Regions from separate parts of the Homo sapiens genome. Here regions 2 and 3 are each linked to region 1. The links are contacts of gene promoters, found by promoter capture Hi-C in human tissues and cell types (Jung and others, 2019). All regions are on one chromosome and are shown on one strand. The core of a region is centred on a gene start or on the middle of the fragment in contact, and the rest is flanking DNA. Distances in the headings are between cores, read along the strand shown.

Region 1 (3,101 bases), core at 602-3,101:
TGGTCTAAGTACCCCCCTCCCCGGCCCCTCCCTGCCCTTCCCCCTCCTCTGATCATCCTGTGTGCTCACCATCCACAATCCCCTCTCCTGGCTCCACATCATTCTCCAAAGGGTTCATGTTCAATCATTCAGTTAGACTTTAAACTCCCTAAGAGCAGAGGAGGGTGATTTTGGCCAAGATATGCAGATCGATTCATCAGTAATCCACTGACCACCTCCATTTAGGTTGGGAGCCTCTTTATCTTCCCTCTTTAGTTTCTTCAAGGTGCACACACAGATACCTACAGCAGGCAGGAATCCAGGTGGGGCACCAGGCATCTCTGCTCACCTTGGCTGCTGGTGGTGGGGTGCCTGCCTGTGCTGTGCATGCTGCAGCTTTGGCAGGGTGGCCAATCAGTCCAGTGCCAGCCTTTGCCTCCCAGAGAATGCTTCACACCCTATTCTTCCCCCAAACCCATCACTGGCCCAGACATCAAAAGCACACATCCCTGTGCTATTCCCCTTCAAAGAGCTTCATATCTAATATCTCACTGAGTCCCCCGACTAGCCTTGGAAAGGCAAAGCAGGGATTATTAATCTCCATTTTGTAGATGGTGAGGGTCTTGTCCAAGGCTACTCTGAATTCAGCATAGAGCTGGGACTGGGCTCCACTCTTGTGTCCAGTCATTCTTGTCAAACTCTGGTCTGTGGAATATACATGCCTGCCTCTGTGTAGGCCCCAGTCTCTTTCCCTTTAAGAACTTGGGTCTGAGAGGACAAGCGCATGTCGCACGCACACACACACGCACATGCATACACACCCTTACAAGATGCACAGCCACCAAAAAGCCTAATAAAGCAAGGTGCCCAAGACCACGGTTCAGGATCCGTAAAAATGGCCGGAGATAATTGACTGCAACCTATTCACTGCAAATGGGGCAACTTGGGCCCACAAAGGGCCAGAGACTTGACCCGAGTCACAGAGTAGACTAGAGCCCAGGTCTCTGGACTCCCAGTCCTGTGCTCTCTCCACTGTGTGTGCCCTCAGCAAACAAGGCAAGGCAGGGAGGAGCAGGAGCTCAGAGAGCCTGGGGCTGAAGGGTGGGAGGAAAGAGCCTGGTGGGGGACTTCGGTCCACAGGTGTGGATGTTCCAACCTTTCTCTGGCAGGGTCGGGGTGGGGGCACCAGGTAGCTGCAACCTGTTCCTTCAGCACCTGGGAGGAGACACAGAGTCTGGTTCCCTGAAGCCAAATGTTTCTTCTTTGTCCTCTGTGTCCCTTCATCTCTTATAGCTGTGTCCACTGAGTGGCAGAGGTCCAGGCCCAGCGCCTTCCAGTCTAGGAGCCTGTGACCTGGGACAGGATCCCTGGGGAAAGGGTGAGGGCTGGCAAAGGGCCCGCCACCCTGAGCACTCCAAGAGACAGGGGTGGAACTCACTTCAAGGATTCAGGGCGGCGAGGATCCTCTCCCACCGGCGAAGCGGACACCGCGGTGGGGCTGCGAGTACCCAGTTGTTGTTTTTTTCTCCTTCCCTGTTCTCCACCCCATGCACTTTTCCGAGGGGCAAGCTCCGCAGTTCTCCCATCAAGGAGGCTCTCCAGGCTCCCTGCCGGCCTTCGGCTCCTGGGGTGGAGGTGGGCGTGGGGTACATGGGCCCTAGGAGAATGGGGTGTGAGAGACTCCCCTGGGCTTATGGCTTTGGTGGCACCTCAGGCTGTGGAATGGGGTGGCGAGTCTTTGGAAGTCACAGAGCCCAGGGTCGGTGGCACGTGATGAGGCGCAGGCCTGGCTCAGGGGGTGGTGCCCACGGCCCTCGGCTCCTCCCCCGGGGCCGCCCCGCCCCGCGCGGGAGGGGACGGGCGGGGACCGGCATGGGTAGGCGCGGCGACCCGCAGGGCCAGGTGCAGGGCCCGCGAGTCCGGGGTCGCCGCAGCCCGGGAGGAGTGTCTGGTCTCCGGCCTGCCTGTGCTGTCCCCGCGCCCTGTCCACTGGACTCCCGAGACCCTTGGAACCCAGGTAACCCGGGGCGGGACTCCCCGCCGCGCGCCGCCTCCCCACCTCCCGGTCCACGCGCACCCGCCCTCCGCGGCAGCCCCAGCCGCCCTGCGCCCGTGGAGCCCGTTGAGCCTGGGTGGCCGCTCCGAGGGCGGGTCTGGGAAAGTTTGTGCCGGGGCGGCCCTGATCCGGCGGCGGCGCGGCTCGGCCACTTTCACCGCACGCGGGGCCGGTGTGAAGGTGGGGCGGCCGCCGCCGTGCAGAAGGCTCTCTGCTGCAATCGAGGGCGGTGAGGGGAGCTGTTGCCTTCTCGCACCTTTTCTCTCACTCTCCAGGGCGTTTGCGCCGCTTATCCTTCCTCCACCGCCCCCCTCCCGCCGCCCCCACTTTAATAAAACCCTTGGATTGGGGCTGCACAGTTGGCGATTTCTTTACACCTGTGCTTCCCGCCTCCTGAGCCCAGATGTGAGCCTGGGCTGAGCAGGACCGTGTGGGTGAGGGGCGGCCCACTGCCTGCGGGGGTCGTCCCGGCCCTGTTGAAGTGGGTGCCCAGCTACAGGGAGTTCCCCCTGCTCTGTCATTGGCCTCCCCCCGGCCACAGCCCCCAGCTGGGCATCTCCTGGCTCCCCTAGCACTTCCCAAGTCCTAGTCGGATGAGCCCAGGAGAGGGGGTGGACCCCGGCCCAGCAGAACAAGAACTCAGGAGCCCGGTAACTCTTATCCGTGAGCAGAACCGGCTTCCTCCCGCTTAGGTTGGGAGGAGGGCTCAGCTTAGTGGGAGTCGGGGGTGACAACTGCCCCTTCCCACGCAGAGCCATAGAGAAGAGATGGGGAGAGGTCAGGGGATCTGAGAAGAGCTAGCAGCCAAAAAGGGACACATCCCTGATTTCATTTGAACCTAACAAACCAATGGCGAGTAGATATTAACACATGGGCAGATGAGAAGACAAGGAGGCCCAACAAAGCTCAGCCATTTGCTGGAGAAACTGGTGGGCTTTTCTCCACCACTGAGTGGCGGGTTTCCCACCGCATCCTTCCAGAGCTGCATGGTCGCTTCTGCATTCTTGCAGTGCCCTTGACTCAGCAGAGGTTTGTTTCTTTTACCCCACTCCCCACCCCCCTAGGT
Region 2 (3,101 bases), core at 165-2,664, 100 kb before region 1:
ATACGTATATTGGAAAATGGATGGAAAACACATCAAAGGTTACAAGTTACCTATGAAAGAATTGATAAAATCTCCTTAGAGTTTGTGTGTGTGTGTGTTTGTGTGTATTAACAAAATTTGAAATTTTTACTTACCTTCTCTTTCACCTCTAGACTTTGAAAGTCTGTATCAGATTTTGTGACATATTGTATGTGGATTGTCTACTTTAGATTATCCATGGAAAACTATTTTTTAAAATCAGTCGTGTTGCTCCTTGTTGTCTAAGACAATTCTGGATGTTTTCTCCTGATTGGTATGTTTTCAGGGGAATGCAAACTAATTTAATATAGCCCTGGTGTGTATAATGAGGGTGTTAAATCTGTCAGAACACAAATCACAATGATTGAAATATGAATGTAATATTTTGGTACCTTTGAAACTATTAAATTACTCCCCTATATTACATTAAATCAGTGAGAGAATTCCCTTGGTTGGTTCATTCATTCATTAAACAAATATTAATACCATTCCTACTATTGCCAGGTACTGTTGTATCACATACAACAGTAAACAAAACAGACAAAAATTTCTGCCTCTATGGAGCTTACATTCTAGCTGAGAGGGAAACTGAAACTAACAGATAAAATATATACTGTATCAGATAGCAAAATAAAGGAGGGAAAGGGGATGGGGGAGTGTTGGAAGGCATGGCAGTTGGAGGAGGGCAGGCCTGGGAAGGATTGTGACATTTGAGTGAAGACCTACAAGGAATCTGTACAGATATCTCAGGGAAGAACATTCCTGTTCTAAGGTATAGCAAGGGTAACAGATTTGAGGAAAGTGTGTGCCTAGTATGTTCAAGGAACAAGGAGGAGGCTAGTGTGACTGAAGTGGAGTGAGCATGGAGTGTTAGGCTGGTGCAGACATAATTGCGGTTTTTGCATTGTTTAAATTTGCTGTTTGGTATTGGAATACATTATTAAATAAATGTGGTTATGTTATACATAATTTTAATGTGCATTTCTTGCTTTGTTTTGCTAATGACTTATTACTTGCTGTTTATTTTATATTTATTTAGACTATGGAAATGATGTTAGACAAAAAGCAAATTCAAGTGATTTTCTTATTCAAGTTCAAAATGGGTCATAAAGCAGCAGAGACAACTCGCAGCATCAACAATGCATTTGGCCCAGAAATTGCTAACAAAGGTACAGTGCAGTGGTGGTTCAAGAACTTTTGCAAAGGAGACGAGAGCCGTGAAGATGAGGAGTGTTGTGCCCGGCCATCAAAAGTTGGCAACGACCAATTGAGAGCAATCATCGAAGCTGATCCTCTTACAACACTAGAAGTTGCCGAGAACTCAACATCAACCATCCTACGGTCATTCAGCATTTGAAGCAAATTAGAAGGTTGTAAAAGCTCGATAAGTGGGTGCCTCATGAGCTGACTGAAAATAAAAACAATCGTCATTTTGAAGTGTTGTCTTCTCTTACTTTGTGTAACAACAATGAACCATTTCTTGATCAGATTGTGACGTGCGTTGGTAAGTGGATTTTATATGACAACCGCTGATGACCAGCTTGGTGGTTGGACTGAGAAGAAGCTCCAGAGCACTTCCCAAAGCCAAACTTCTACCAAAATGTTAATGGTCACTGTTTGATGGTCTGCTGCCGGTCTGATCCACTACAGCTTTCTGAGTTCCAGCAAAACCATTACATCTGAGAAGTATGCTCAACAAATCTCTGAGATGCATGGAAAGCTGCAACGCCTGCAGCCAGCATTGATCAACATAAAGGGCCCAGTCCTTCGGCACAACAATGCCTGACAATGCGTCGCACAACCAACGCTTCAAAAGTTGAATGAATTGGGCACAAAGTTTTGCCTCATCCACCGTATTCACCTGACTTCTTGCCAACTGACTACCACTTCTTCAAGCATCTCAGCAACTTTTTGCAGGGAAGATGTTTCCACAACCAGAATGCAGAAAAAGCTTTCCAAGAGTTTATCGAATCCCAGATCACACATTTTTACACTACAGGAATAAATAAACTTATTTCTCATTGGCAAAAATGTGTTGATTGTAATGTTTCCTATTTTGATGAATAAAGATGTGTTTGAGCCTAGTTATAATATAATGATTTAAAATTCACGGTACAAAACCGCAATTACTTTTGCACCAACCTAATAAGATTAAAACCAGTAGAGGTGGGTATTTTGAGAACCATGTATTTCAAGGACGGAATTATTGTTTGTGTCAGCTACTGCTCATAGGTAAAATAAGAGGAAGTCGGAGAATCGATTGTTGTGTTTAGCAATGTGGAAGATGTTGGTGACCTTAAATAAGTGCAAGTTGGTAGACAGATGGGATGAAAAGCTTGGTTGATATGGATTCAGGAGAAAATGGGAGATGTGGAGACAGTGAGTGTAGATAACACTTTTGAGTTTTATTGTAAAGGGGGAACTATGCACATTTGGTGTGTAGAGTTAAGAGAGTGGGCTTTAAAAAATTTTTTGGTTCTATGTTTAATGTGACAGGAATAATCCAGTAGAGAGGGAATATTTGACAATGCAGTAGAAGGAAGAGAAAATTGCTGCAGCAGTTTTCTTGAATAGGTGGGAAATAATTGGGATTACCTTTAGTTTTCCAAAGTGACCATTGTATTTCTTTGATGCTTATAATTCACATTCTTCCCTTTTAAAGAACATCAGTGCCTGAGCCTTTTTATATACATATCCTTTCTTATGTCTGTACCTTACCCCTCACATGTATACTTTTTTCTTTTTTTTAAAAAACCCTGCATGTGGCATTCAAACACATGTATGCTTTTATCAGAGCCCCTAAAATACTTTATTACATTTATTTACATGTCTCACCCATTACTGGATTGTCGATACCTTGATCTATGTTATTACTCAACTATTGGTTCTTTGACTGTAGTGTTTTTATTCATTGCTACATGCCTATATTAGTTACCCATTGTTGCATAACAAATTACTTTAAAACATAGCCACTCAAAACACACATTTATTATATTGCAGTGAGTCAGGAATCCAGGAACAGCATAGGTGCTGGGTCTCTTACAAGGTTATGAACCAATGTGTTGACAGGGCCTGAAGTCTCA
Region 3 (3,101 bases), core at 431-2,930, 74 kb before region 1:
GGATTCTTGTTTGACAGATTTTTTTGTTTGTTTGTTTGTTTGTTTTCCTTCTAGCACATTGAATATGTCAACCCACTGCCTCTGGCCTCCAAAGTTTCTGATGCGAAACATGATGATAACCTTCTTGAGAGTCCCTTGTATATGATAAGTCTCTTTCTTACTGATTTTAAGATCCTCACTTTGTCTTTGGCTTTCGATAGTTTCATTATACTATATCCCAATATGGGTCTCTGAGTTCATGCTACTTGGAGTTTGTTGAGCTCCTGGGATGTTTATACTCGTGTCTTTCATCAAACTTTGGAAGTTTTTCATCATTATTCATGTGATCTCTTTGCCTCTTTCTCTTTTCTCCTCCTTTCAAAACTCCCACAATGTATATACTCATCCAATTGATGGTGTCCCACAGATCTCTTAGATTCTCTTCATTTTTCTTCAGTCTTTTTTTTTTCTGTTCCTCAGAGTCATAGTTGCAATTGTCCTATCTTAAAGTTAGCTGATTCTTCAGCCTGCTCAGATATGCCTTTGAATCTATATAGTGAATTTTTCATTTTGTACTTCTCAGCTCCAGAATTTCTCTTTGGTTCTTTTTTAGGTTCTGTAGCTCTACTGATACTTACACGTTTTTCATACATCATTTTCTTGATTCTGTCTGCACCTTCCTTTAGTTCTTTGCACATCTTTAAGACAGCATTTAAAGAGCTATGGTAGATTTGCCATCAGGTCTTTTTCAAGGACGATTTCTATGATTTATTTTTTGCCTTTGAATGTGCCATACTTTCCTGTTTCTTTGTATGCCTTGTGATTTTTTGTTGTTGTTGAAAACTAGACATTTAAATCTATTAATGTGCTAAGTCTGGAAATCAGATTTTCTCCTTTCACTAGGGCTGGTTGTTTTAGTATTATTTTTGTTTATTGTTTTTGGTTTTTGTAGACTGGGTAAGGAAACAGGGATCAGCCTATGTCAGAGATAGAAATATAAACTTAAGGTCTTCCCAGGTATTTTCTTTGCATCTTTTCCTGGACATGCATGATCATTTTCCAGTTTTGTCCATATTTACAGTTGTTTTTGAATGTCCCAGTCTTTAATGTCTGGCTCCCAAAAGGAGAAAAAGAGAAAAATAAATACAGGAAGAAAAATTGGCTCTGGCCCTTTAAGTTCCCTGGAAGTCATTTCAGGGGAGCAGGGGGGCTCTTGCAACACCGGGAGGAGGTGCAACAACAATGGCTGGCAGCCTCTTTGACTACACCCATGTGATCTTTGGCAACAATCAGTGATCAGAGTACAGATCTCCATACCTGGAGGACAAGGTCCTTTTTGCCTACGTGGGCTCCTGCAAGCTGAGTACAAACTGCTCCAGGAGCACATGCACAGCTGCCTGCCAGGGAGCTAGGAGTGGAGGATGGCTTGCTGCAACAGTGTTAAGAGCTGAAAATGACCCAAATTAATGCACTTTATCATTTAGTCCTTCTCTTGGAAGTTGCAAGCCTTCAGTGGACTACAGAGTTCCAAGATAATTACTTTAGACAGATTCTGCCAGTGCAGTTGTTGTCTAAGTTGGGAGACAGATTCCTGGTGGTTCCTACTTTGTCATCTTTCTTGAATCCCTCTGTGATTTCTTATGGCAGAAATTATGTTAATAGTAAACTCAACATAAGTGATATAGTTTTTTGGTTCCTAATAAATCAGATTTTTGTTTTTTGTGTTTAGAATGGCAGCCCAAGATAACTATGCTGGTGGTTCTATGGCTTATGGTGCTACATATACCCATAGTGATATAATATGTCTAAAAAGGTATGATTATTGGTATTAGGAATAAAAGCTTCATTAGCCAAATATTTTAAAGCTTTTTTTTTTTCTTTTTTGCAGGGCAGAGGTGGAGAGGGGTTAGATTATTTCATCTGCCCTACAGTTGGCATAATAAAGAGTAAGCCCTTAGTTTTGGGAATGTATGCAGTAAGCTAGGCATCCTTGCGTCGGCTGTCATAGAAGTCCCTGTCCTCTTAGTCTTCAGTAAACATTAGGATATACCAGGACTTATATTCTGTACCACAGAGTTCAGCATTCAATTAAATATGGTCTTATATCATAGTCTAAATAATTTGTTAATAATTATAAGGTTTTGAGGGGCAGTTGTTATGCCTCTTGTTTGTACACACAGTGCCTAGTAGGTATTCAGTAAACACTTGTTGATTAGGTTATCATGTATAAGCAATAATTTTTTTGTGGAATAATGAAGGTCTTGAAACTTGAGTAGACATTAGACTGAAAGTATGCACAACTTCCTGTAAATTATGTGTAAATTTGTAGATTTGAACTTTGACTTGCATACTAAGGATTCTTTTACTGATTTCAGAGTGGTAGTGCTGATATTTCCTAACATTTACTGAGTACTCTCTCTGTGCCTGGCATCGATCTAAACAATTTATGTACATTAACTCATTTAATACTACATTATGAAGTATTCTTTAAATCCATATGGTATATGAGGAAACTAAGATATAAACAAGTTAAACTTTTTCTTAAATACACAGAGTTAATAAGTGATAGAGCCAGGATTCAAACCCAGAAAAAAACAGCTAAAAGCCTACATCCTTAACTTCTATGTTATACTGCCTCCCAGTGTTACATATATGACGTTTCCAATTTTTATTGGACTTAAGGGCCTAAATTCATCAAACCTCCCTCCTCTAAACACATACACGTGTGCACGCATGCACAGACACACACACACACACACACACACACAGACACACACACACCTATTTTAATCTTTTGTTATTAGATACAGTTATTAGACCATCTTGGGATCATGGCGTTTTCTGTAACTTAAACTACCTACCTTTAGGTGAATTGAGTTAGAATTGAGTATTTGACACAAATATTACTTCTATTCCAGATTATGAACATTTCAAAACTCTATTTCATAAGTAATAAACATGATTTTGGCAATATTCCAAACACTGCTGTTGTTGGAAGTGTTAGGTTAGATAGAATTCTGAGTACTTTATTAAGTTAAATAGACACTGACAAAGGAATATTTTTATAAAGATCTGATAAGCCTTCTGGTCTGTATAAACCCTGTCTGTCCTACAAGTGTACA

What was found. The method cuts DNA at HindIII sites, captures the fragments that hold promoters and counts their contacts. A contact is called where the count stands out against the background at its distance.
Region 2: a fragment that was not itself captured here is called in contact with the fragment with the promoter of PAQR5 in region 1 in 2 of the 25 tissues and cell types used here (adrenal gland and aorta).
Region 3: a contact is called between a fragment that was not itself captured here and the fragment with the promoter of PAQR5 in region 1, in 3 of the 25 tissues and cell types used here (IMR-90 fibroblasts, dorsolateral prefrontal cortex and small bowel).

The regions. Positions count from the first base shown.
Region 1 is chr15:69,297,061-69,300,161 of GRCh38, forward strand. PAQR5 (progestin and adipoQ receptor family member 5) reads left to right here and starts at 1,852. Exons shown (of 9, transcript NM_017705.4): 1 at 1,852-1,996. It overlaps PAQR5-DT (PAQR5 divergent transcript), which reads right to left and starts at 1,703. Exons shown (of 3, transcript NR_184010.1): 1 at 1,418-1,703. The HindIII fragment of the contact is 6,076 bases long and covers 1-3,101 here.
Region 2 is chr15:69,195,358-69,198,458 of GRCh38, forward strand. The region is part of intron 1 of GLCE (glucuronic acid epimerase); the gene reads left to right. Among named protein-coding and RNA genes, the nearest start is that of GLCE, 36 kb to the left of the region's middle. The HindIII fragment of the contact is 3,496 bases long and covers 1-3,101 here.
Region 3 is chr15:69,223,328-69,226,428 of GRCh38, forward strand. The region is part of intron 2 of GLCE (glucuronic acid epimerase); the gene reads left to right. Among named protein-coding and RNA genes, the nearest start is that of GLCE, 64 kb to the left of the region's middle. The HindIII fragment of the contact is 3,998 bases long and covers 1-3,101 here.